2 separate regions of the Homo sapiens genome follow, and region 1 is linked to region 2. Evidence: promoter capture Hi-C in human tissues and cell types (Jung and others, 2019). All regions are on one chromosome and are shown on one strand. Each heading gives the region's core, a stretch centred on a gene start or on the middle of the fragment in contact. The rest is flanking DNA. Distances are from core to core; before and after follow the strand shown. Region 1 overlaps NUP210L (nucleoporin 210 like). Region 2 holds the start of DENND4B (DENN domain containing 4B).

Region 1 (6,621 bases), core at 3,247-5,746, 170 kb before region 2:
GATGGAGTGCAGTGGTGCACTCATGGCTCACTGCAGCCTGGACCTCCCAGGCTCAAGCAATCCTCCCACCTTAGCCCCCCAAGTAGCTGGGACTGCAGGCACATGCCACCACACCTGGCTAATTTTTGTTTTTGTTTAGTTTTTCGAGGCAGAGTCTCACTCTGTTGCCCAGGCTGGAGTGCAGTGGCGTGGTCTTGGCTCACTGCAACCTCTGCTTCCTGGGTTCAAGCGATTCTCCTACCTCAGCCTCCTGTGTAGCTGGGGTTATAGGCATCCACCACCATGCCTGGCAAATTTTTGTATTTTTAGTAGAGACAGGGTTTCACCATGTTGGCCAGGCTGGCCTTGAACTCCTGACCTCAAGTGATTCACCCGCCTCACCCTCCCAAAGTGCTGGGATTACAGGCATGAGCCACCACAACCGGCCACACCTGGCTAATTTTTAAATTTTTTGTAAAGAAGGCGTTTCACTGTGTGGCACAGGCTGGTCTTGAACTCCTAGGCTCAAGTGATCCTCCCATGTCAGCCTCCCAAAGTGCTGGGATTATAGGTGTGAGCCACTACACCCAGCCATGATGTATTTCATATGCACATTTCCATGTGTCATCAGGTCCACAGAGCGTACTTTATTTTTCTTTTTTTGGAGACAAGTCTCACTCTGTCACCCAGGCTGGAGTGCAATGGCATCATCATAGCTTACCTGCAGCCTCGACCTCCTGGGCTCAAGTGATCCTCCTGCCTTAGCCTTCCAAGTAGCTGGGACTACAGGCGTGTGCCACCACACCCAGCTAATTTTTATATTTTTTGTAGAGACAGGTTCTTGCTATGTTGCCCACAATGGTCTCAAACTCCTAGGCTCAAGTGTTCCTCCTGCCTTGGCGTCCCAAAATGTTGAGATTACAGGTGTGAGCCACCACTACCAGGTGCATAGAGTACTATTAATTCTAAAAATCCAAAGGTTTCATATGCCAATTTATTTACCCATGCCCCAAACATTGAATGTTTCCATTATTTCCATTTTTTTTACTGTTGTAAATGGCATAACTGAGTATCTTTGTACATTTTTTTTCTTTTGGATTATTTCCATACTGTGTAACAACAGAAATGGAGTTATTGAGTAAAGGGATAAGGAATGAATCTGTTTCTAATGCCTCCAAAATACATAAGTATCCTGATTTTTACTAGCCTGCCAAACCTGCTTTCCTCTCCCAAACCTACTTTTTCTCCAATGCTCCTTTCACTCAGTTTAGACAAAATCCGAAGTCACCCTTGACTCTGCCTTCTCCCTCAGCTTCTGTATTCAATACATTATTAAGTGCCATGTCAATTCTAAATGCCAGTCAAATCTTTTTTTTTTTTACCATCCCCGTTGTGCTCTCTCTCTCTCTTTTTTTTTTTTTTTCTTTTTGAGATGGAGTCTCACTCTGTTGCCCAGGCTGGAGCGCAGTGGCGCGATCTCAGCTCACTGCAACCTCCGCCTCCTGTGTTCATGTGATTCTCCTGCCTCAGCCTCCCAAGTAGCTAGGACTACAGGCGTGTGCCACCACGCCCGGCTAATTTTTGTAATTTTTTTTAGTAGAGATGGGGGTTTCACCATATTGGCCAGGCTGGTCTCGAACTCCTGACCTTGTGATCCGCCCACCTTGGACTCCCAAAGTGCTAGGATTACAGGCATGAGCCACCGCGCCCAGCCTCTCTCTCTCTTTTTTTTTTTTAATTGAGACAGTCTCACTCTGTCACCTAGGCTGGAGTGCAGTGGCACGATCTCGGTTCACTGCAACCTCTGCCTCCTGAGTTCAAGCGATTCTCCTGCCTCAGCCTCCCGAGTAGCTGGGAATACAGGATCATGCCACAATGGCTGGCTAATTTTTGTATTTTTAGTAGAGACAAGGTTTTACTATGTTGGCCAGGGTGGTCTCGAACTCCTGACCTCAAGTGATCCACCCGCCTTGGCCTCCCAAAGTGCTGGAATTGTAGGAGTGAGCCATGGAAACTGGCCCATTAATAACTTTTTAAACTTTTAATTTTGAAATTATTATAGATTTACCAGAAGTTGCAAAAATAGTATATAGGACAAAGAAAATGTACATATGGCTAATAGCACATTAAAAGATGTTCAGCATGATTAGTCATTAAGAAAATGCAAATCCAGATGGGCGAGTTGGCTCACGCCTATAATCCTAGCATTTGGAAGGCCCAGGCGGGTGGATCACTTGAGGTCAGGAGCTTGAGACCAGCCTGGCCAACATGATGAAACTCCATCTCTACTAAAAATGCAAAAATTAGCTGGGCGTGGTGGCGCGTGCCTATAATCCCGGATACTCGGGAGGCTGAGGCAGGAGAATAGCTTGAACCTGGGAGGCGGAGGTTGCAGTGAGCCGAGGTTGCGCCATTGCACTCCAGCCTGGGCAACAAGAGCGAAACTCCGTCTCAAAAAGAAAAGAAATACAACTGACATTGGAGTGTTGATGTTGTATATGGCAACTTCGCTGAATTAATTTATTAGCTCTAGTAGTTTTTTGTGGTTTTTTTTTTTTTTTTTTTGAGACAGGGTCTCACTCTGTTACCCAGGGTGGATTGCAGTGGCACCATCATGGTTTACTGCAGCCTTGACCTCCTGGGCCCAAGTGATCCTCCTACCTCAGCCTCCTGAGTAGCTGGGACTACAGGTGCATTCCACCACTCCCAGCTAATTTTTTTGTAGAGATGAGTTTCACCATGTTGCCCTGGCTGGTCTCAAACTCCTGAACTCAGGTGCTCCACCCACCTCAGCCTCCCAAGGTGCTGGGATTAGAGGTGTGAGCCACTGCACCTGGCCCTGGAACTGCCATACTGTTTTCTACAGTAGCTGCACCATGTTACATTCCACCAGCATTGTATAAGTGTTCCTATTTCTCCACATCCTTGTCAACACTTGTTATTTTCTGTTTTGTTTTCTTTGAGACGGAGTTTTGCTCTGTTTCCCAGACTAGAGTGCAGTGGCACAATCTCGGCTCACTGCAACCTCCACCTCCCGAGTTCACACCATTCTCCTGCCTCAGCCTCTGAGTAGCTGGGACTACAGGCGCCTGCCACCATGCCCGGCTAATTTTTTGTATTTTTAGTAGAAACGGGGTTTCGCTGTGTTAGCCAGGATGGTCTTGATCTCCTGACCTCATGATCTGCCTGCCTCGGCCTCCCAAAGTGCTGGGATTACAGGCGTGAGCCACCGCGCTGGGCCTGTTTTGTTTTTAAATAATAGCCATCCTAATGGGTAATAAGTAGTATCTAACTATGGTTTTCATTTTCCTTTTCCTAATGATCAGTGTATGGGAAGTTTTTAAACTATGAATTCAATTTTAAAAATATATATACAGCCATTCACATGTTATTTGGTAGTTTGTATCTTTGAAGGAATTTGTCCATTTTATCTAAGTGGTTGAATTTATCACATAAAGTTGTTCAAAATATTGTTTTACTAGTCTTTTGTTGTCTATAAAATCTGTAGTGATGTCCCCTTATTAATTCCTGATATTGGTCATTTATGTCTCTCTTGTTTTCTTTCTGAGTCTGGCTAGAGGTTTATAAATGTTATTGAGTTTTTCAAAGAGCAACTGTTGGTTTCATTGACTTTTCTCTATTTGTCTGTTTTCTATTTCATTCATTTATGCTTTTGTATTATTCTCTTTCTTTTGCTTCGTTTGGATTTAATTTGCTTTTCTTTTTAAAGTTTCTTTTTCTTTTTTTTTTTGAGATGGAGTCTTACTGTTGCCCAGACTGGAGAGCAGTGGAACGATCTCGGCCCACTGCAACCTCCGCCTCCCGGGTTCAAGTGATTCTCCTGCCTCAGCCTCCCGAGTAGCTGGGATTACAGGCGCCCGCCACCATGCCCAGCTAATTTTTGTATTTTTAGTAGAGACGGGATTTCACTATGTTGGCCAGACTGGTCTCAAACTCCTGACCTCAGGTGATCCACCCGCCTTGGCCTCCCAAAGTGCTAGGATTACAGGCGTGAGCCACCGCTTTCAGCCTTTAAAGTTTCTTATGGTGGAAGAACTTTATGATGGATCATTGGGTTATATCTTTCTTCTTTTTTAATATAAGCACTTCTGCCATATTCTATTGGTTATTCAGACCAATCCTAAGACAATGTATACTACATAATGGGGACTACAGAAGGGGGTGAATACCAGGAGTCAGAAATCTTTGGGGGCCATCTTTTAGTCTAGTTATCATAGATAGGTGCTCCAAATTCGTTCTGGGTTCCCTGATATTAGACTTAAATGATTTAATGAACCTGTTTCCAGTAATAAAGTGAGCACTGCTATTCCATGGCATGCAATAGCAAAACAGCTGTTTAAATTATTACCTGTAGACACACTCCAGTCAAGTGCATAGAGAAGGCAAAGCTTTAGGTAACCAACTGGTTGCTCCCCTAAAACATTACAGTGACAGTAAGGGATTTAATATGATTGATCATTGTTGCTAAATGTGCTGGATAGTGTGGGGAAAGAAAATGGTTACATCAGGGCTTTAAATTCCCAGCATGAGATCCCCATAAGAGATCTAAAAGTTTCTCTGACTATCCTTGAAGAAGATCTCACTACCAGATTATTATACCTTGTCTGCAATCATGTGATTAAAATCAACAATAAAGGGATTTTTAAAGTACATATTTATAAATTTAATAATGCACTACTTTTTTTTTTTTTTTTTTTTTGAGACAGAGTCTCGCCCTGTCTCCCAGGCTGTTGTGCAATGGTGTGATGTCAGCTCACTGCAACCTCCGCCTCATGGGTTCAAGTGATTCTCCTGCCTCAGCCTCCTGTGTAGCTGGGATTACAGGTGCATGCCACCATGCCTGGCTAATTTTTTGTATCTTTAGGTAGAGACGGGGTTTCACCATGTTGGCCAGGCTGTTCTCAAACTCCTGACCTCATGATCTGGCCACCTTGGATAATGCATTTCTTTTTTTTTTTTTTTTTAATTATTATACTTTAAGTTCTAGGGTACATGTGCACAATGTGCAGGTTTGTTACATATGTATACATGTGCCATGTTGGTGTGCTGCACCCATTAACTTATCATTTACGTTAGGTATATCTCCTAATGCTATCCTTCCCCCCTCCCCCAACCCCATGACAGGCTCCGGGGTGTGATGTTCCCCTTTCTGTGTCCAAGTGTTCTCATTGTTCAATTCCCACCTATGAGTGAGAGCATACGGTGTTTGGTTTTTTGTCCTTGTGATAGTTTGCTGAGAATGATGGTTTCCAGCTTCATCCATGTCCCTACAAAGGACATGAACTCACCCTTTTTTATGGCTGCATAGTATCCAGAATCTACAAAGAACTCAAACAAATTTACAAGAAGAAAACAACCCCATCAAAAAGTGGGTGAAGGATGTGAACAGACACTTCTCAAAAGAAGACATTTATGCAGCCAACAGACACATGAAAAAATGCTCCTCATCACTGGCCATCAGAGAAATGCAAATCAAAACCACAATGAGATATCATCTCACACCAGTTAGAATGGCAATCATTAAAAAGTCAGGAAACAACAGGTGCTGGAGAGGATGTGGAGAAATAGGAACACTTTTACACTGTTGGTGGGACTGTAAACTAGTTCAACCATTGTGGAAGTCAGCGTGGCGATTCCTCAAGGATCTAGAACTAGAAATACCATTTGACCCAGCCATCCCATTACTGGGTATATACCCAAAGGATTATAAGTCATGCTGCTATAAAGACACATGCACACGTATGTTTATTGCAGCACTATTCACAATAGCAAAGACTTGGAACCAACCCAAATGTCCATTAGTGATAGACTGGATTAAGAAAATGTGGCACATATACACCATGGATAATGCACTTCTAAATACAATTGTCCCTCAGTATATGTGGGGAACTGGTTTCAGGACCCCACATATACCAAAATCCACGCATACTCAAGTCCTACATTCAGCCCTGTAGAACCTTATTATTTATTTATTTATTTGGTTTTTTGTTTGTTTGTTTGTTTTTTGAGACCAGGTTTCCCTATTGTTGCCCAGGCTGGAGTGCAGTGGCGTGATCTCAGCTTACTGCAACCTCCGCCTCCCAAGTTCAAGCAATTCTCCTGTCTCAGCCTCCCAAGTAGCTGGAGTTACAGGCATGCACCACACGCTCAGCTGATTTTTTGTATTTTTAGTAGAGATGGGGTTTCACCATGTTGGCCAGGCTGGTTTTGAACTCCTGACCTCAGGTGGTCCACCCACCTCGTCCTCCCAAAGTGCTGGGATTATAGACATGAGCCACCTCTCCCAGCCAGCCCTGTAGAACCTTACACAAAAAGTTGGCCCTCTATATATGAGTGGGTTCTGCTTGTTTTTAAGTATGAGGCAAATTTCTTACCTTAGCACCTTTAAATGTTCTCATTTTCTTCTGAATAGCTTATAGTATCCCTTTCCCTTTACAGTTTATGGATGTCCAGGGGTCTTTCTTCTGAAAGTATGGTTTCCCTTACTATGTTGATTTTTTAAAAAACCTCTTTTATTTCAGGGAATTTTAAGCTATTTTCCCTGATTCTGATAATTAGTTTAGGTCTAGCAAAACCCTTTTCATTATTATTTCATTTTCATTATTATTGAACCATAGCAAC
Region 2 (6,046 bases), core at 1,101-3,600:
GGGTCAATGGGGCCTGAATGGCATGGCTGGTGCACTGTGAATGGGGAGATCTAGGTGGGGTGGGTGGTGGGGAGATCTCCTCTCCCCGGAGGTAACATAGCACTGCCAGCTTGGGGCTCCTCTCTTCCTGCGTTTGACCCTACTCCTGCCCCTCTATTTCTGCTCAGCTTGCTCTTTGATGACTTCTGCCTTGACCCGTTCTCTTCCTGGCATGCACATGCTCTGGCCCAGCAGGTACGGTGCCCATACTTACTTCGGGCCCCGTGCTCGCTTCTGTCGCTCTGCTTGCTGCCACCTCCCTCTGTCATTGCCTCTGTTCCTGGGGTGGATGAAGGTTGCTGGGCAAAGGGGATATGTTAGCAGGGCTAGGCAGGACACCAGTTCTAAATCCTACTTCCTAAAGATTTGTCTGTATGTCTATAGCTGGAGCAGTTCAGCATGGAGAGCCCATCAGCCAGCCTGGTGCTGGATCCCCCTGGCTTTTCTGAAGGGCCTGGATTTTTAGGGGGTGAGGGGCCAATGGGTGGCCCCCAGGATCCCCACACCTTCAACCACCAGAACTTGACCCACTGTTCCCGCCATGGCTCAGGGCCTAACATCATCCTCACAGGTGAATGGGGGTGGGTGGTGATGGGAAATGGAAGGAGGAAGTGACACATTCACTAATGAGTAGGAGATTGAGGGGTCTTGGAAAAGTTTACAGGACATGGGGTCCTCACCTGTCTCTTCTACCCACAGGGGACTCCTCTCCAGGTTTCTCTAAGGAGATTGCAGCAGCCCTGGCCGGAGTGCCTGGCTTTGAGGTGTCAGCAGCTGGATTGGAGCTAGGGCTTGGGCTAGAAGATGAGCTGCGCATGGAGCCACTGGGCCTGGAAGGGCTAAACATGCTGAGTGACCCCTGTGCCCTGCTGCCTGATCCTGCTGTGGAGGAGTCATTCCGCAGTGACCGGCTCCAATGAGGGCACCTCATCACCATCCCTCTTCTTGGCCCCATCCCCCACCACCATTCCTTTCCTCCCTTCCCCCTGGCAGGTAGAGACTCTACTCTCTGTCCCCAGATCCTCTTTCTAGCATGAATGAAGGATGCCAAGAATGAGAAAAAGCAAGGGGTTTGTCCAGGTGGCCCCTGAATTCTGCGCAAGGGATGGGCCTGGGGGAACTCAAGGGAGGGCCTAAAGCACTTGTAACTTTGAACCGTCTGTCTGGAGGTCAGAGCCTGTTGGAAAGCAGGGGTAGAGGGGAGCCCTGGAAGCAGGGCTTTTCCGGATGCCTAGGGGTGGGCAGTGCCAGCCCCTCCTCACCACTCTTCCCCTTGCAGTGGAGGAGAGAGCCAGAGTGGATACTATTTTTTATTAAATATATTATTATATGTTAATAAAAAAATCATATCAAACCCTTGGTGTGGTTAGTTATTTGGGGCATGGCTGGGGATCTAGGGAGTTATAGGGCCATGGGTCTTTTTATCTATTAGGCTTTTTGCATCTTCTTAGCACCACTGTGCTTTGTGGAAGGGCCCCACAGCCTCGGAATTTGTACCCAGCTGGATGTAGGCTTCCACGGCAGCAGGAAATCACTTCATGTGCCCTCCTGTCTGTCCAGGGCCCTGCTGCAGCATCAGATGGGGGCTTTGACTGATCAGACAAGTTATTCCTCTTCCTCAACCCTAGGTCTGGCAGTGAGTCGGGTAAGGAGGTGATTGCTGGCTGAGCCCACAGGTCTGAAGTGCTCCTAGGTCTCAGGGAAGCAAGCCTTCATCCTCACTCCCTCACTATGCATGCATTCACTTCACCCTCTCCACTCTTCACCACTCATTCATTTTAGTTTTAATTAAACAGATCCTTCAGTGCCATGCATGTTCTGAAGGTTTTCTCTTTCTGGATTGGGTTGCCAGCCCTTGGACCAGCCGTGTGGGCCTCTGCACCCCTCACTCCCCCAACCCGCATAGTGAGAAAAGTAGAGCCCCGCAGTTACCTTACCCCCACCTCCACTGCTCTATTCCACACCCTGCAGTCCTGGCCTCTCTTCCTCTTTCCAAAGCTCTTGTCATTTTCAAAAAAGAGAACTGAGAGCTTCTGGTTCTGGTCCAAAGGGAATGCCCTGTGCCCTAAACCTGGAAGTAGGGGGAGCCACCTGGGTCCCCGTAGACTAGACCTTCGGGACTTCACCTGCGCCCACATCATGCTTGCCACATCTGACTGCAGGACCCAGGCGGGAAGGGAGCGCGCCGCGGCCCTCTGGGTCGCCTGGGGTCAGTGTCCTGAGGCACGGGCTGGATGGTGGGAAGCTACCTGGGTGCAGGGGGCCCTCCCAGCCGCCAGGGGTCGGGCTGCAGGCGGCTGGGCTTTGGGCAGACGCTTGCCAGGGTCACGGCCGCCGGCCGAGGAGGAGGGGTGGGGGTAGCGGCGGCGCCCGCGGCCCGGAGCGGGGGTTGGGGGAGTAGAGAAAGCGGGGCGCGCGGAGGAACGCTGGGTCCCCGGCGCCGCGGGAGCTGGGAGGACCGAGCCGGCCGAGCGAGCAGCGCGGCAGCACAGTCCCCGCGTGGCGCAGCGCGGCGGGGACGCGGGGACCGCCCGGATCTCCTTCCACTGCGCCCCGCGCTCTGCGGTCCTCGGCCGCCTCTTCTTCCTTCACTCACTGCCCGGGCGGGAGCGGCGCCCAAGTCGGGTGCGCCATGTCTGGGGCCGGGTAGCCCCGCCGCCCGCCGGCCCGCCAGCTCGCCCTCCGAGCCACCCGCCAGCGGGCCGGCCGGCCGGGAAGCGCGGGACAGGCAGGTAGGGGCTGGACCGGGCTGGGCGGCAGGCGGGGACGGGCAGGAGGGAGCGCGGGCGGCAGGCGGGGTGGGGGATGGCCCCCAGCTGCTGTCCCTCACTGCACATCTGGTTCCGGTTCCTCTCTCCTGGGGAAGTGAAAGTGGAGGGGAGGGCACCTCCCGCAATTAGCTCGCCGTGCCCGGCCTCCTGCACCCCCTTCTGCTCCCGTGGGTGCCGGAGTCGGAGCCGCCCTCCCTCCCGCTTGGGTCACGCGGCGGCCGGCGCTGCTGCCGTCACGTCCTCGGCCGCCGGCGCGCCTGCTTCTCTGCCCTCCTGCTCCTTCCTCAGCCTCCTCCCCCTCGGCGCGCCCTCTGCCCCAACCCGAACTTCCCGTCACCCGGCACGCGGGCGTGGGGACCCGGAGTGGGCCCTGTGCCCGTTGTCTTCCCTAGGGAGAAAGGGCTGCTTTCTGCAGGACTCTTCCCTGGCTTGGTGAGGGGAGGCCCCGGTGCGCAGGTCCTGCGGATGGGTGCCACCCACTTGCCCCTCAGAAGGTCCCACCTAATGGCCTCTGCCTGCTGCCTTGGGCATAGGGCTCCCATTCGCCCTCAGTGGATGAGGGACAGGTCTGTGCCCCAGAATTAAATCAAGAGGCTGACGCTGACTCCTGGCTTTACCTCCCAGAAGTGGAGTCTAAATTTAGCTGGGGTTGGTGTGTGTACGTGTGTGCGTGTGTGTGTGCGTGTGTGTGTGTGTGTGTGTGTCCAGAGGCCAGGTGATGAAGAAAGCCAGCCTGGCTCTATGAGATTCCTTATTCCCTGTTCTCTGGGGGAACAGCAGGAGGTTAGCAGGACTGCACATCCTGGAACCATTCTGAGCCTCCTCTGCCTTGCTCAGGATCCTATAGTCTGAGATTCCAACTTGGCGTAATGCTGTGCTGGCACCTTCAATGGTAACCCCACCACCGCCACCGCCACCACACACACCCATAGGCTGACTTCCTCTGAGTTGCAGCTTCCCCTCCACTGTTTCAGGAAGTAACCTCCCTTCCCCTCTGAAGCACCCCCCACGCTTCTGGGCCCCTGCTGCGAGCTACCCACCAGGCTTTTTCCCAGCTTCTGCACCCTGGGGCGCCTCAGGACCCTTGGGGCTCCTACTCCCCGGGGTTGGGCCATGGAGGCAGGTGAGAACTAGGCTGTTGTGGGCCTGTTTCTGTCTCTGGGCTCCATGGTGGAGGGTGTGGGATGGCCGGGACTTGTCTCTCACAACTGCTTTGGATCTAACGAGCTACCTAAGGATCCTGGAGGTGTGAGAACACTGGATTTTGGGCCAGATTGGTGGAGTTAAGCTAGGAGAAAGGACACTTGGGTTCGTTGAAAAGACTCTTAAAGCTTGGGTTTTGTGGGCTTTCTCAGAAACCCATGGGGTCCTCTTAAAAACCTAGGAGTGGGCTCTTTAAGAACATTGGCAGGATCACAAGGTTCTTATGGTGTCATAACTAGAGTAGGAAGGTCAGAAACCCTTGAAAAGACTGTAAGGTTGGTATGATGTCATGGCCAGCATGAATGATGTCATGGAAGGCTATTACAAAAAAGATTGTGATCTCTGTGATGTTATAACTGGTGAGCCTTTAAAAGGGACACATGGACAATGTGAATGTCATAGCTCAGGTTAGCTGTGTGTGGTGGAGTTTAGGTTCTTTGAGGGGAGTGCCAGGACCATTAAGTGGGAGGGATCTGGTCTCTTTAAGAAGCTGTGGTGGGCAGTGATGTCACAGGGGGAAGAGTTCAGGATTGGCCGACCCCTTATCCTGCCTTTCTTTGGAAGGACTAGGAAGAGGAGGGGAGCAAGAGGGTACCCTGGTTGCCATGGCATCCCCAGCCTTCCTTGCTTCATCTCTCTCCCACTTGACCATTCCAGATGCAGTGAGTGAGGGGGGGGCCATGGCGGAGGAGCGGCCCCCCCGGCTGGTGGATTACTTCGTGGTAGCTGGGCTTGCAGGGAACGGAGCACCCATCCCTGAGGAAACGTGGGTTCCTGAACCCAGTGGGCCCCTGCGCCCTCCCCGGCCAGCTGAGCCCATCACAGATGTGGCAGTCATCGCTAGGGCACTGGGCGAGGAAGTGCCCCAGGGCTACACATGCATCCAGGCTTCTGCTGGGGGCCACCCCTTGGAACTCAGTGCTGGACTTCTGGGTGGAACTCAACCCGTCATCTGCTACCGCAGGGGCCGTGACAAGCCCCCCCTCGTTGAGCTGGGGTGTGTGCCCCTACCCATGCTGGCACCAGGGGAGGCTGGGAGGGACTCCAGTGAGACAGGGAGAGGTAGGACTATGGAACAAGGGAAGGGCAATGGGGATGGGAGCCTGGTGGGCCAGGGGCCAGGAAGGAAGGACTGAAGTTGTATGTACTTAGTCCTTACAGATGCGATTTCATGTGCTAGTGCTGCTCCTTGCTAGCTCTGAGAGCTTAGGCAGGTTTTTGAGCTCCTCTGGGCCTGTTTTCCTCATCTGTCAAATGGGGAAAATAATTCATCCTCATAGGATGGTCGAGATTAAATGAGATAACCCATGTGACAGACTTAACAGAGTCAGTCAGTGGTAGCTTGTATAACTATTTTTTTTTTTTTTTTTTTTTTTATAGACAGAGTCTCTCTCTGTCACTCAGGCTGGAGTGCAGTGGTGTGATCTTGGCTCACTGCAACCTTCGCCTCCTGGGTTCAGGCAATTCTCCTGCCTCAGCTTCCTGAGTAGCTGAGACTATAGGCATGTGCCACCACGTCCAGCTAATTTTTGAATTTTTAGTAGAGATGGGGTTTGACCATGTTGGCCAGGCTGGTCCTGAACCCCTGACCTCAGGTGATCCACCTGCCTTGGCCTCCCAAAGTGCTGGGATTATAGGCATGAGCCACCGTGCCCAGCTGACCCTTAGTGTTTATTAATGAGTATGAGAGCCATAGAAGGCATGCAGGATTGTTGCTGACCATGAAATAAGGCCAAAGGCCAAAGAAAGGGCACAGGATTCTGGAGGGCAGAGTTCAGCAAGAAGAGGTGGGCCCTAGTGTTAGAGTTTGACAAGGCTGTGGGTACAAGGCAAGTTCAGGGGATTAGATAGGCAGATCTGGCAGGATTGGGTCTTTGTCCTCTACCCTGACCTCTCAACATCTATCTTTGCTCTCTGTGCCAAGGGTGTTGTATGAGGGGAAGGAACGTCCCAAGCCTGGCTTCCAAGTGCTTGACACGACACCCTACAGCCACTCAGCAAACCTGGCCCCTCCAGGCCCCGGGCACCCCCGC

What was found. The method cuts DNA at HindIII sites, captures the fragments that hold promoters and counts their contacts. A contact is called where the count stands out against the background at its distance.
Region 1: a contact is called between a fragment that was not itself captured here and the fragment with the promoter of DENND4B in region 2, in 1 of the 25 tissues and cell types used here (pancreas).

The regions. Positions count from the first base shown.
Region 1 is chr1:154,118,974-154,125,594 of GRCh38, reverse strand. The region is part of intron 10 of NUP210L (nucleoporin 210 like); the gene reads left to right. Among named protein-coding and RNA genes, the nearest start is that of MIR5698, 18 kb to the right of the region's middle. The HindIII fragment of the contact is 5,706 bases long and covers 1,644-6,621 here.
Region 2 is chr1:153,943,022-153,949,067 of GRCh38, reverse strand. It overlaps DENND4B (DENN domain containing 4B), which reads left to right and starts at 2,350. Exons shown (of 28, transcript NM_014856.3): 1 at 2,350-2,767; 2 at 4,671-5,010; 3 at 5,938-6,046. The coding sequence starts at 4,694. CRTC2 (CREB regulated transcription coactivator 2) reads left to right here. Exons shown (of 14, transcript NM_181715.3): 13 at 424-610; 14 at 739-1,393. The coding sequence ends at 959. RefSeq lists enhancers at 1,779-1,848, 2,660-3,160, 3,629-3,678, 3,999-4,098 and a silencer at 2,239-3,138. The HindIII fragment of the contact is 7,798 bases long and covers 1-6,046 here.